2 separate regions of the Homo sapiens genome follow, and region 1 is linked to region 2. Evidence: promoter capture Hi-C in 16 types of primary human blood cells and fetal thymus (Javierre and others, 2016). All regions are on one chromosome and are shown on one strand. The core of a region is centred on a gene start or on the middle of the fragment in contact, and the rest is flanking DNA. Distances in the headings are between cores, read along the strand shown.

Region 1 (5,791 bases), core at 841-3,340, 84 kb before region 2:
CGTCCCTGTCGCCTAAGGCACGCGCTGTGCGCACTTCGCCCGTGCGCAGCCCCAGGCTGAAGAGCCCGGGCTCGCTAGCCTGCAGCACGTGGTAGGACAGCCAGGCGTTGTGTCCTGAGTCTGCGTCCACCGCCACTACCTTGGTCACCAAGTAGCCAGGCTCTGCAGCGTGCGGCACCATATCGAAGAGCGCAGAGCCGTCGGGACCCAGCGCGGGGTACAGCACCCGTGGCGCATTGTCGTTGCGGTCGTCCACTAACACGCGCAGGCTCACGTTCGCGCTGAGCGCTGGCGAGCCCTGGTCGCGGGCCTGCAGTGTGAGTTCGAAGGCGCGCAGCTGCTCGTGGTCGAAGGCGCGCTGCGCGAACACCACCCCGCTCTCCGCGCTTATGGACACGTAGGATGACAGCTCCCGCTGCTCCAGGTCACTGGCCATGATGCAGTAAGAGACTTGGCCGTTGGGCCCCAAGTCCGGATCAGAAGCCCTGACTTGTGAAATAGAGGCTCCAGGCGGGTTGTTCTCGGCCACGTGGACTATATAGGAAGACTGTGAGAAAACCGGAGCGTTGTCATTTACATCACCAATGTGCAGGGTGATGCTGGAACTGGAGGAGAGGGGAGGCTTGCCCCGATCTGTTGCCGTAACGGTTATATTGTACTCTGGATTCTGCTCGCGGTCTAGAACAGCATCTGTCACTAATTTATACGTGTTTCTTGAAGAAGTTAATATTTTAAATGGAACATCACCTTCCAATTTACAAGTCACTTCTCCATTGTGTCTGGAATCCTTGTCACGGACTTTGAGCAAAGCAATATGTGTTCCCAGCTCGGCGTCCTCCATAATTAGGTTGGGTAGAGACTGGAATATCACTTCTGGGGCGTTGTCATTTTCATCTATGACTTCTACCTCCACTGTGCATTGCGCAATCATTCCTCCACCGTCCCTTGCTTCCAAAACTATGGAATATTCTTTGACTTCTTCAAAATCTAATGTATTTAAAACAGTAATTTCCCCGGTGTTAGAGTTCAGGTCAAATTGGGTGATCTGGCTAGCTTCACTGAAAGAGAAAGTAATCTCGGCATTGACACCCTCATCCTGGTCCGTGGCAGTCACCTGTAGCACCGTGGTCCCCGGGTACACGTTTTCTGAAAGGCTCACCCTGTATACGTCTTGACTGAACACTGGAGCATTATCATTGGCATCAGTCACTAGAACGTGTATCTGTGCAGTGCTGCTTAGGGGTGGAGCTCCAAAGTCCAAGGCAGTCAAAGTCAAGTGGTAGGATTTCTGCTTTTCTCTGTCCAAAGGTGTCTTCAATACCATCTCAGGGTATTTACTGCCATCTGATTTCTCTTTATTTATCAGTGAGAAATGATCACTGGGACTGAGTTGGTAATTCTGCAGTGTGTTGCTACCAATATCCGCATCATGGGCAGATCCTAATATAAATCGTGTGCCAGGCTGTGCAGACTCACTTATTTGCAGCTCAAAGGAATTTTGCGTGAATTTTGGCGTGTGGTCATTAATGTCCTCGATCTCCACATTCACGTGATAAAAGTTCAGTGGATTTTCAGCAACAGCCTCAAATTCCAGAGCACAAGCTGGCTTCTTCCCGCATATCTCCTCCCTGTCTAGCCTGCTGCTCACAAGCAACTCCCCGCTCTCTGCGCTCACGGTGAAGTAAGGCTTCTCCGAACTGACGCGCAGTTTTCGAGTCGGTAACTCCTGGACGCTGAACCCCAGGTCCGTGGCGAGGTTCCCCACTACGGAGCCCTTGGGCATTTCCTCGGGAATCCTGTAGCGGATCTGCTCACAGAGCGCCGGGCAGAACAAAGACAGCAGGAAGAGAAAGAGCACTGGCAGCCTCTCAGCCCGGCCCAGCTCCCCGGCGCCGCTCCCCATCCCTCTTGCTCTCCTCAGCTTGCTCACCAGCCTGGAGACGCCGGGTTACAAATAACCTCTGTATTGCAGATTTTTGGATCTCCGAACGGACTTTAGTTGCAGTTCCAGTTCAAGAAAAAATTCTTCTTTTTCCGAGGAGGAAGCGGTGTAAAGGCTGGCGCTGGGGAGTCTGAGCTGGGGCTGCCCTGGAAAGCGCGCTGCGGCTGCGCGAGGAGATCTGGAGCGCCAAGCTCTCCACTTTGGCCAACAGCGGCGCCCAGAGTCAGCACTAGGAAACTACAGCCTCTGCTGCTTCAAGTTAACCAGTGCAATAATTATAATTGTGTGCCTAACTGAAAGAACAAAAACTACGTGGATACGTCTGTATATTTAATGACGTCTAAAAATGTACTCTTAGGAATGCCTTCATCCCAACTTTGAGGATTTTTAGGCAAATCATGTAGATTAAGTACATAAACATTTATTGACATAAGCTTTCCCCAATCTTCAAACATGCACTATCTATATAAAGATAGCCATAACACAGACTTGGCCTAAACCGTCTCAGAGTACAGTAATTTTCCATACTTACTCATTAGAAATATACTGGATACATTTTATCTTTCTTTCATTGTTCCTAACATTTTCTCCACTTTTCTAAGTACCTCCAAGTTGATTTATTTCAACTTTTTCCGGAGAGTATCAGTAATACCAAAATTGCCTTTTAGAAGGTGCAATTTATACTTATCTTCAAATACACCCCCTTCCCAATAGTTTCAGTGATTTCATTACAGGAATATTATGTGATTCTCATTTCGATGATCACAGGCAGTAGCCTACTCCTCTCCTCATTACACAATTATTTTACTGGTTATGAAATACAACATTCATCTTCAAAGTTATCAGGGGGATAATACATAGCCTCAAAACACAAAGTCACTGAGATCTGCTGCACTGAAGCACTGCTTCCTACCTCTGCACTTATTTTACATTCCTTGGTGACCTCTGAATTGAAGGAAACAATCCCTGGAAAGTTTGATTGCAATAGCTCACTGAGTTTAGTGATTATGTCTCTCCATTGCTTAAAAACAATTTTATGCATCTAATAAATTTTGGTCAGGAGATTTTCTTTTACAAAATACCTTATAACCGTAGTTCTGCCATAGGATCTTCCCTCAGTAACATTGTTGGTGTCAGCAACATTGTCTTCTACCCCAAGTGATTGTACATCTGAAATGTGAACACTGCAGAACTTGTAAAATGTATCCAGCCTGGGTGACAGAGCGAGACTCCATGTCAAAAAAAAAAAATGTATCCCCCACACTATTGTACAGAGTCTATCATGTGCAAAATACTACCAAATACAACACTAGTCTAAAAAGAGTCTTTTTTTGAAGAGACAGAGTCTTGTTATATTATCTAGGTGGGCCTCCAATTCTTGGGTTCAAGCTGTCCTCTTGCCTCAGCCTCCCATGCAGGTGGGCTACAGCTTGCAACACCATACCTGGCTAAAAGTGTGTTTTTAATTAATACTCAAAGGTCTCTGGAATCAAGATTACCTTGTCATCCACCCCTTCTGGATGACAATCACTTGATATACTGAGCTTTACTAAAATGTTATACAAAAGAATATGGAAGTAGTTAATCCCAGATTGGGTTATTTCCAACTGAATTTTTCAGTAGACCTAATAAATAAAATCAACTACTGGTCTAGGATCTGTGTACATAAGATGGTCTAAGGTTTGAGTACGTGAGACAGTTGAAACAAAGCCAGTATCCCCAATCTCCCACTTTGATAGCCCACAGACACACTTCATCTGGCTGTACCACTAAAACAACATACTGGAATTCTCTGTTAAAACATGTAATTGCCTATGTCACAAATGCCAATTACAACACTTAAAATGACATTTTATTTGACATATTTTATTGGTTTTGTCCGATGGCCTTTAGTGTGGCATTAGACTTGATGTCTGTCTTTGATATAGATCTTAGTGAAGTGTGATACACACACATTTCATTCTTTAGGCATAAATCCAACCTTCTACTACCACCCCATTAATAAATGATTATACTGTAAATAGGTCAAGAAGCAATCAAGATTTTTTAGGACCACCAAGCTGAGGTACATGGAGGCAGAATCAGCCACAGAAAAAAATCTTCACATGGAAGAAATCTTTCAGAACCTTTTACATATTTGAATGCTAAAGAGAATCCTGAGAAGACAGCTGAGGTGTGTTTTATTCCTGCTAACCTTGTGCAATATGAAAGACTCGATTCATTCCAATGTATAAAATATATGAGTTAAGAAAGTAGGTTGGAACATAGATTGGAAAGTAGGTGGAAATTATAAAATGTGATAGTCCACATATTCATAATCTTGTCCATAGGCTTTCACTAAAGAAATACTATATCCTATGTGTTCTATATTAAAGTGTCACCACTGAAGGAAACTGGTAAACTCATTTTTACCTCTATAAAGTTTTTTAAATCCCTATTTTCAAAACATTTGTTTTGCAAAATAATAGAGAAATATCATGCAAATAAATTCCTCATGGAAATAAAGGAAGGGCTGGGCTCACCTGAATACTTGGCAGGTTTTCTTTACATTCCTGAAAATCTACGGATGTTAGCAAAGAATCATTTTTCTCACAGCTCTCCTGGCTGATGAGCATGTCTACATAGTTGGGCTGGGGGAAGATCAGGTGACTCTTCCGAGAGTCCGCGGTGAGGGAGACCTCATGGGAATAGGTCTGCAGGAAAGCCTGCACCCCGTCCATGCCCACAAAGTGCGAGGTGGGCACGTTCGCCAAGCCACCTTCTGAAGCCTGCAGCAGGCGTGACTTGTGCCAGCGCCGCAGCCTGAGCGCCAGCAGTACGAGGACGAAGGCTAGGAAGACGCAGGAGACTGTGGCCACCGCCACCACCAGGTACAACGTGAGGTCATAGTTGTAAGGACCGTCGGAGGGCTCAAGGCTGCCCAGGTCGGCCAAGACTTCGGGGATGCTGTCAGCCACAGCCACGGTGAGTGTGACGGTGGCTGACAGAGGAGGCTGACCGTGGTCCTGGACGGCCACCACGAGGCTCTGCTTGAGGGCATCTCTGTCCAGCAGGGCCCGAGCCGTGCGCACCTCGCCCGTGTACAGCCCAACCGCAAAGAGTCCTGGCTCGCTGGCCTTAAGCAGGAGGTATGACAGCCAGGCGTTCTGGCCTGAATCTTTGTCCACCGCCACCACCTTGGTCACCAGGTAGCCGGGCTCTGCGGAGCGGGGTGCCAGCTCCATGCCAGTAGAACCATCTGTGGGGAGGGCCGGGTACAGGATCTCGGGCGGGTTGTCATTCTGGTCCAGCACGAACAGGCTCAGTGACATGTTGCTGCTGAGAGGCGGGTCCCCGCTGTCATGTGCAGTCACTCTTAGTTGTAGTTCTCTCAACTGCTCATAATCAAAGGATTGCAGCGCGTACAGGACTCCAGTGTCAGAGTTTATGGAGACATAGGAGGACACTGGAGCCCCCTGGATGGTGTCTTCGGCCAAGGAATAAGTGATCTGGGCATTATCCTCACTGTCGTGGTCCTGTGCAGTCACTAAGAAAATGGAGGCCCCTCTGGGGTTGTTCTCAGCGATGTAGACTGAGTAGGATGAGTGGGGGAAGGTGGGTGGGTTATCGTTGGTGTCTGCCACCTGCATGAATATGTGAGTTTCCCTGGACAAGGGAGGAGTTCCACCATCTGTGGCTTTCAGTGTGATGTTATACAAAGAGAGTGTTTCCCGGTCCAAGTTTTTGGTTGTGACCAATCTATAATAATTATCTATTGATTTTTCTAATTTAAAAGGTAGGTTTTCTGGAATGGTGCAGGTCACCTCACCATTCTTTCCAGAATCTCTGTCTTGTAGGTAGAAAAGAGCA
Region 2 (5,341 bases), core at 2,364-4,863:
TACCAGAGAAAAGAACTGCAACTGCTGACATTTGGGCATTTCCCAAAGAAAAGCCCAGATTACTATTTACTACAGTGAAGACTACCTGGTGACAAATTATCCATGCACAATTTGCTTTTTAGTACCTCATTAAAAAATTTTTTTTTAAATTTTCTCAGAGACCTTTGTTCTGAAGTACCTCACTTTTAATTGACAGCCAAGGATAATTAGACAAGGAAAGTTTTCTAAATGAAAGAGAATGCTTTCAGCATACTTTCTTCCCCCCAGATTTTGTTTTTACTACCCATGGCCGACGACGGCTTGGAATGTAAGCCTGGAGAGAATTCATTCCAATGCTGGGATTATAAATATCTGGGAGGAAGAAGTGTGTCCTGACAGTGGTATCCTCACTAATGTCCAAAAAACATCTTGCTTTGAAAGCTAGACATGTCATTTGTATCCCGAACTTCTACTTCTTTTTAAATTGAATTTCATTTTAGATTCAAGGAGTACATGTGCAGGTGTGTTACATGGGTATGTTGTGTAACGCTGAGGTTTGGGCTTCTAGTGAACCCGTCACCCACATAGTGAATGTAGTACCCAACAGGTAGGTTTTCAACCCTCAATCCCTCCCACCCTCCCCACTTTTGGATTCCCCAGTGTCTGTTATTCCCATCTTTATGTCTTTGTGTACCCATTGTTTAGCTCCCACTTATATAAGTGAGAACATGCAGTATTTGATTTTCTGGTTCTAAGATATTTCACCTAGAATAACAGCCCCCAGCTCCATCCATGTTGTGAGGGACATAATTTCATTCTTTTTTATGGCTGCATAGTATTCCGTGGTATACATATACCACATTTTCTTTATCCAATCAACTATTGATGAACACTTACATTGATTCTGTGACTTTCCTGTTGTGAATAGTGCTTCCATAAACATATGAGTGTAGATGTTTTCTGGTTTTTTTTTTGGAGACAGGGTCTTGTTTTGCCACCCAGGCTGGATCATAACTCACTGCAGCCTCCAACTCAGCTCAGTCAATCCTCCCATCTCCGCCTCCTGTGTAGCTGCCACTACAGGGGCATGCCATCATGCATGGCTACTTTTTGTATTTTTTTGTAGAGATGGCATTTTGCCATGTTGTCCAGGCTGGTCTGGAGCTCCTGGGCTCAAGCGATCTACCTGGCTTGGGCTCCCAAAATTCTGGGATTACAGGTGTAAGTCACTGTCCCCAGCACAGGTGTCTTTTTGATAAAATGATTTCTTTTCCTTTGGGTAGATACCTAATAGTGGGATTGCTGGGTTGAATGGGTGTTCTATTTTTAGTTCTTTGAGAAATCTCCATACTGCTTTCCATAGGGGTTGAACTATTTTACATTCCCACCAACAGTGTACAAACGACAAATTTCTACTTCTGCATGAGGCTGTGTGGGTCCTCAAAGAGAATCTCAAAACTTAGAAAGCATAGTGCTGAGCCACCCAGCTCTTTTCTATCAAGTTTCTTAGCAATGCAGTATATAAATACTATCCATTTTCCAAGTTGATTTTATAGTGCCGTGTTCTATCTTCAGAAATGATAAGGACTCCACGTTCCACCAGTTCCCAGGGCTGCAACCCCAGATCCTTGGGGATGTTGCCATGTGATAGCATTTCTCCAGCTCTGCAGGAAAGCAGTAGCACATCTCCAGGGCTAAGGATTCCCACAGTGCCCTACTCCCCTCCTTGCCCCCCAGGAAAGTGAGGAGCGTGGGCAGATCGCTGAGGGTTTTCTGATCAAAAGCAGTCACTGTCTCTCATGTAGCAACCCTCAGATCGTTTCGTTACCGGACAGGGGTCCCGATCCAGACCCAAGAGATTGTTCTTGGATCTCATGCAAGAAATAATTTGGGGCAAGTTCATAGAGTCAAGTGAAAGCAAGTTTATTAGAGAAGTAAAGAAGCAAAAGAATGGCTACTCCATAGGCACAGCAGTGGCCTGGGCGGCTTGACTAAGGATACTTACAGTTTTTTATTGAATGTAAGCTAAACAAGGGGTGGATTATTCATGAGGTTTCTGGGAAAGGGGTCCAAAGTTACCGGAACTGAGGATTCCTCCCCCTTTTTAGACCACATAGGGTCACTTCTTATTGTTGCCATGGCATCTGTAAGTGGACACGGCGCTGGTGGGCGTGTCTTTTAGCATGCTAATGCATTATAATTGGCGTATAATGAGCAGTAAGGACGACCAGAGGTCACTTATTATGCCATCTTGATTCTGGTGGGATTTGGCTGGCTTCTTTACTGAAACCTGTTTTATCAGCAAGGTCTTTGTGACCCGTATCTTGTGCCGGCCTCCTATCTCATCCTGTGACTTAGAATGCCTGTCTTCCTGGGAATGCAGTCCAGTAGGTCTCGGCCTTATTTTACTCAGTCCCTAGTCAAGATGGAGTTGCTGTGGTTCCAGCGCCTCTGACAGTTTGTCTTCTCTACTTTATTTTTTGTAGGGGGTAAGGGGTGTCTCATTTTGCTGCCCAAGCTAGCCTTGAACTCCTAGGCTCAAATGAGCCTCCCTCCGCAGCCTCTCCAAGTGTTGGGATTACAGGCATGAGCCACCACACCTGGCCTGTCTTATCTACTTTAAAGCAGTTTTCTTGTAGATTGACCCTCTGAATTCAGGGTCTATTCAAGTGAGGGCATCTTCTTTTCGGGTTGTTTGTTTTTGTTTTTTGCATGGTAAGAAGCGTGGGATAGGCCGGGTGTGGTGGTTCATGCTTGTAAGCCCCAACACTTTGGGAGGCCAGTGGGTGGATTGCTTGAGTTCAGGAGTTCGAGACTAGCCTGGGCAACATGGCGAAACCCCGTCTGTACAATACAAAATTTAGCCAGATGTGGTGGCTTGCGCCTGTAGTCCCTCTAGTCTCAGCTACTCAGGAGGCTGAGGTGAGAGGATCGCCTGAGGCCAGGAGATTGGGGCTGCAGTGAGCCAGGATCGCGCCACTGAACTCCAGCTTAGGCGGCCGAGTGAGACCCTAAGTCAAAAAAAAAAAAAAGAGAGAAAAGAAAAGAAGCAGGGCTGACTGATTAGGACAGCATTTCTTTTGCCGCCAGCTGAACTGCGGCGTCTAGAGTTCCCGGCCATAATTGCAAGAATTTATCGAAAAGCTTTACATGTTTTCTTGGTTTTGGTTTTGTTTTGAGACAGAGCCTCACCCTTTCGCCCACCCTGGAGTGCAGTGTGCGATCATAGCTCACTGCAGCATCGACCTCCCGGGTTCAAGCGATCCTCGCTTCATTCTCCTGAATTGCTGGGACCACAGGCGCGCGCCATCGCGCCCGGGTATTTTTTCGTTTTTGTAGAAATGGAGTCTTGCCATATTGCCCAGGCTGGTCTCGATCTCCTGGGCTCAAGCGATCCTCCCGCCTCGGCCTCCCAAAGTGCTGGGATACAGGAGTGAGCCACCGCGCCCAGTCGCAGTACACTAAAAGTATTTATTCGGTCCGCGTCCCCCGCCTGCGGGTGCAGGGATGGCGGCTCCAGGCTGGAGGCGGCTGGGGGCCCGGCCAGTGCGCCAGGAGCCGCAGGAACGCTAGTGAGCCGCGCGCTGGGCCGGCAGCTGGGGGTTATTTTAGTGCGCGGGGAGGGGGCGGCCCGCGGCGGAGCGTAGGGTTGAGCGGCTTCCCCCGCACTGGGGTGAGAGCCCAGAACAGGCGGTAGAGCCACCCCACCACCCCCAACTCCATTCCCCGCGCTCGCTGCGGCTGGACGTGAAAAGCCGGTCTCACGCTCTGGGGAGTTAGTCGCCTTCCACTGGGACCCTCAGACGAGTGAGCGAACATGAAGTCCGGTCCTGGCATCCAAGCCGCCATCGACCTCACAGCGGGGGCCGCAGGGGGGACAGCGTGTGTACTGACTGGGCAGCCCTTCGACACAATAAAAGTGAAGATGCAGACGTTCCCTGACCTGTACAAGGGCCTCACCGACTGCTTCCTGAAGACATACGCTCAAGTGGGTCTCCGGGGCTTCTACAAGGGCACCGGCCCGGCACTTATGGCCTACGTCGCCGAAAACTCGGTCCTCTTCATGTGCTACGGGTTCTGCCAGCAGTTTGTCAGGAAAGTGGCTGGAATGGACAAGCAGGCAAAGCTGAGTGATCTCCAGACTGCAGCCGCGGGGTCCTTCGCCTCTGCATTTGCTGCACTGGCTCTCTGCCCCACTGAGCTTGTGAAGTGCCGGCTACAGACCATGTATGAAATGGAGATGTCAGGGAAGATAGCAAAAAGCCATAATACAATTTGGTCTGTCGTGAAGGGTATCCTTAAAAAGGATGGCCCCTTGGGCTTCTACCATGGACTCTCGAGTACTCTACTTCAAGAAGTACCGGGTTATTTCTTTTTCTTTGGTGGCTATGAACTGAGCCGATCGTTTTTTGCGTCAGGGAGATCAAAAGATGAACTAGGCCCTGTCCATTTGATGTTAAGTGGTGGAGTTGCTGGAATTTGCCTGTGGCTTGTCGTGTTCCCAGTGGATTGTATTAAATCCAGAATTCAAGTTCTTTCCATGTATGGGAAACAGGCAGGATTTATTGGTACCCTCTTAAGTGTTGTGAGAAATGAAGGAATAGTAGCCTTATATTCTGGACTGAAAGCTACTATGATTCGAGCAATCCCTGCCAATGGGGCACTGTTTGTGGCCTACGAATACAGCAGGAAGATGATGATGAAACAGTTGGAAGCATACTGAAGTGTCTTGGTGAACCTGGATCCGAGTCCATGAGTTTGAGGACTACAGTTCATCACAGGGTTCAGCAGAGTACAAGACCACTGTCTAATTTTGACTTCATGGGAATTTTGGTTTTATCTTCCCTTCTTCTACCCTAAATCTTAACTTTATGGAAGGGCCTCTATTTTACATCATATAATTTCTGCCCATAATTGTATTGAAATAGGAAAGTTGCTGCTCTTGCACTTGCTGGAATGTACAGGGTGGGCTGGTTGGCCCTATGTACCTAATCTGAAAAACTAAATATCGTTCTGTCAGGGCCTTTGCATAAAGCCATTTGTGTGTACATGCAGTTTGGATGATTCTATGTCGTGAGTGAAACAATTTAGTTCTATATATAATCTCAAATATCAGCCCCCCAAACCCAGAATTGACCATATTTTGTGAAGATAGGTATGAATGATTACTTAGGATCACTCTCTCTTTTTTTCTTTTTTTTTGGAGACAGAGTCTCACTCTGTCGCCCAGGCTGGAGTGCTGTGGCATGATCTTGGCTCACTGCAACCTCTGCCTGCCTGGTTCAAGCGATTCTCCTGCCTCAGCCTCCCGAGTTGCTGGGATTACAGGTGCCCGCCACCATGCCCAGCTAATTTTTGTATT

The links. Contacts are between HindIII fragments. The CHiCAGO score rates a contact against its expected background, and 5 or more counts as called.
Region 1: a contact is called between the fragment with the promoter of PCDHGB4 here and the fragment with the promoter of SLC25A2 in region 2, in 1 of 17 cell types (M1 macrophages). The highest score is 6.6, in M1 macrophages.

The regions. Positions count from the first base shown.
Region 1 is chr5:141,383,997-141,389,787 of GRCh38, reverse strand. It overlaps PCDHGB4 (protocadherin gamma subfamily B, 4), which reads right to left and starts at 2,090. Exons shown (of 4, transcript NM_003736.4): 1 at 1-2,090. The coding sequence starts at 1,903. All of the region lies in intron 1 of PCDHGA1 (protocadherin gamma subfamily A, 1), which reads right to left. All of the region lies in intron 1 of PCDHGA2 (protocadherin gamma subfamily A, 2), which reads right to left. The region is part of intron 1 of PCDHGA3 (protocadherin gamma subfamily A, 3); the gene reads right to left. It also overlaps PCDHGB1, PCDHGA4, PCDHGB2, PCDHGA5, PCDHGB3 and PCDHGA6, and 2 more genes. The HindIII fragment of the contact is 3,088 bases long and covers 1-2,378 here.
Region 2 is chr5:141,302,321-141,307,661 of GRCh38, reverse strand. SLC25A2 (solute carrier family 25 member 2) reads left to right here and starts at 3,613. Exons shown (of 1, transcript NM_031947.4): 1 at 3,613-5,027. The coding sequence starts at 3,797. The coding sequence ends at 4,702. The HindIII fragment of the contact is 3,271 bases long and covers 3,126-5,341 here.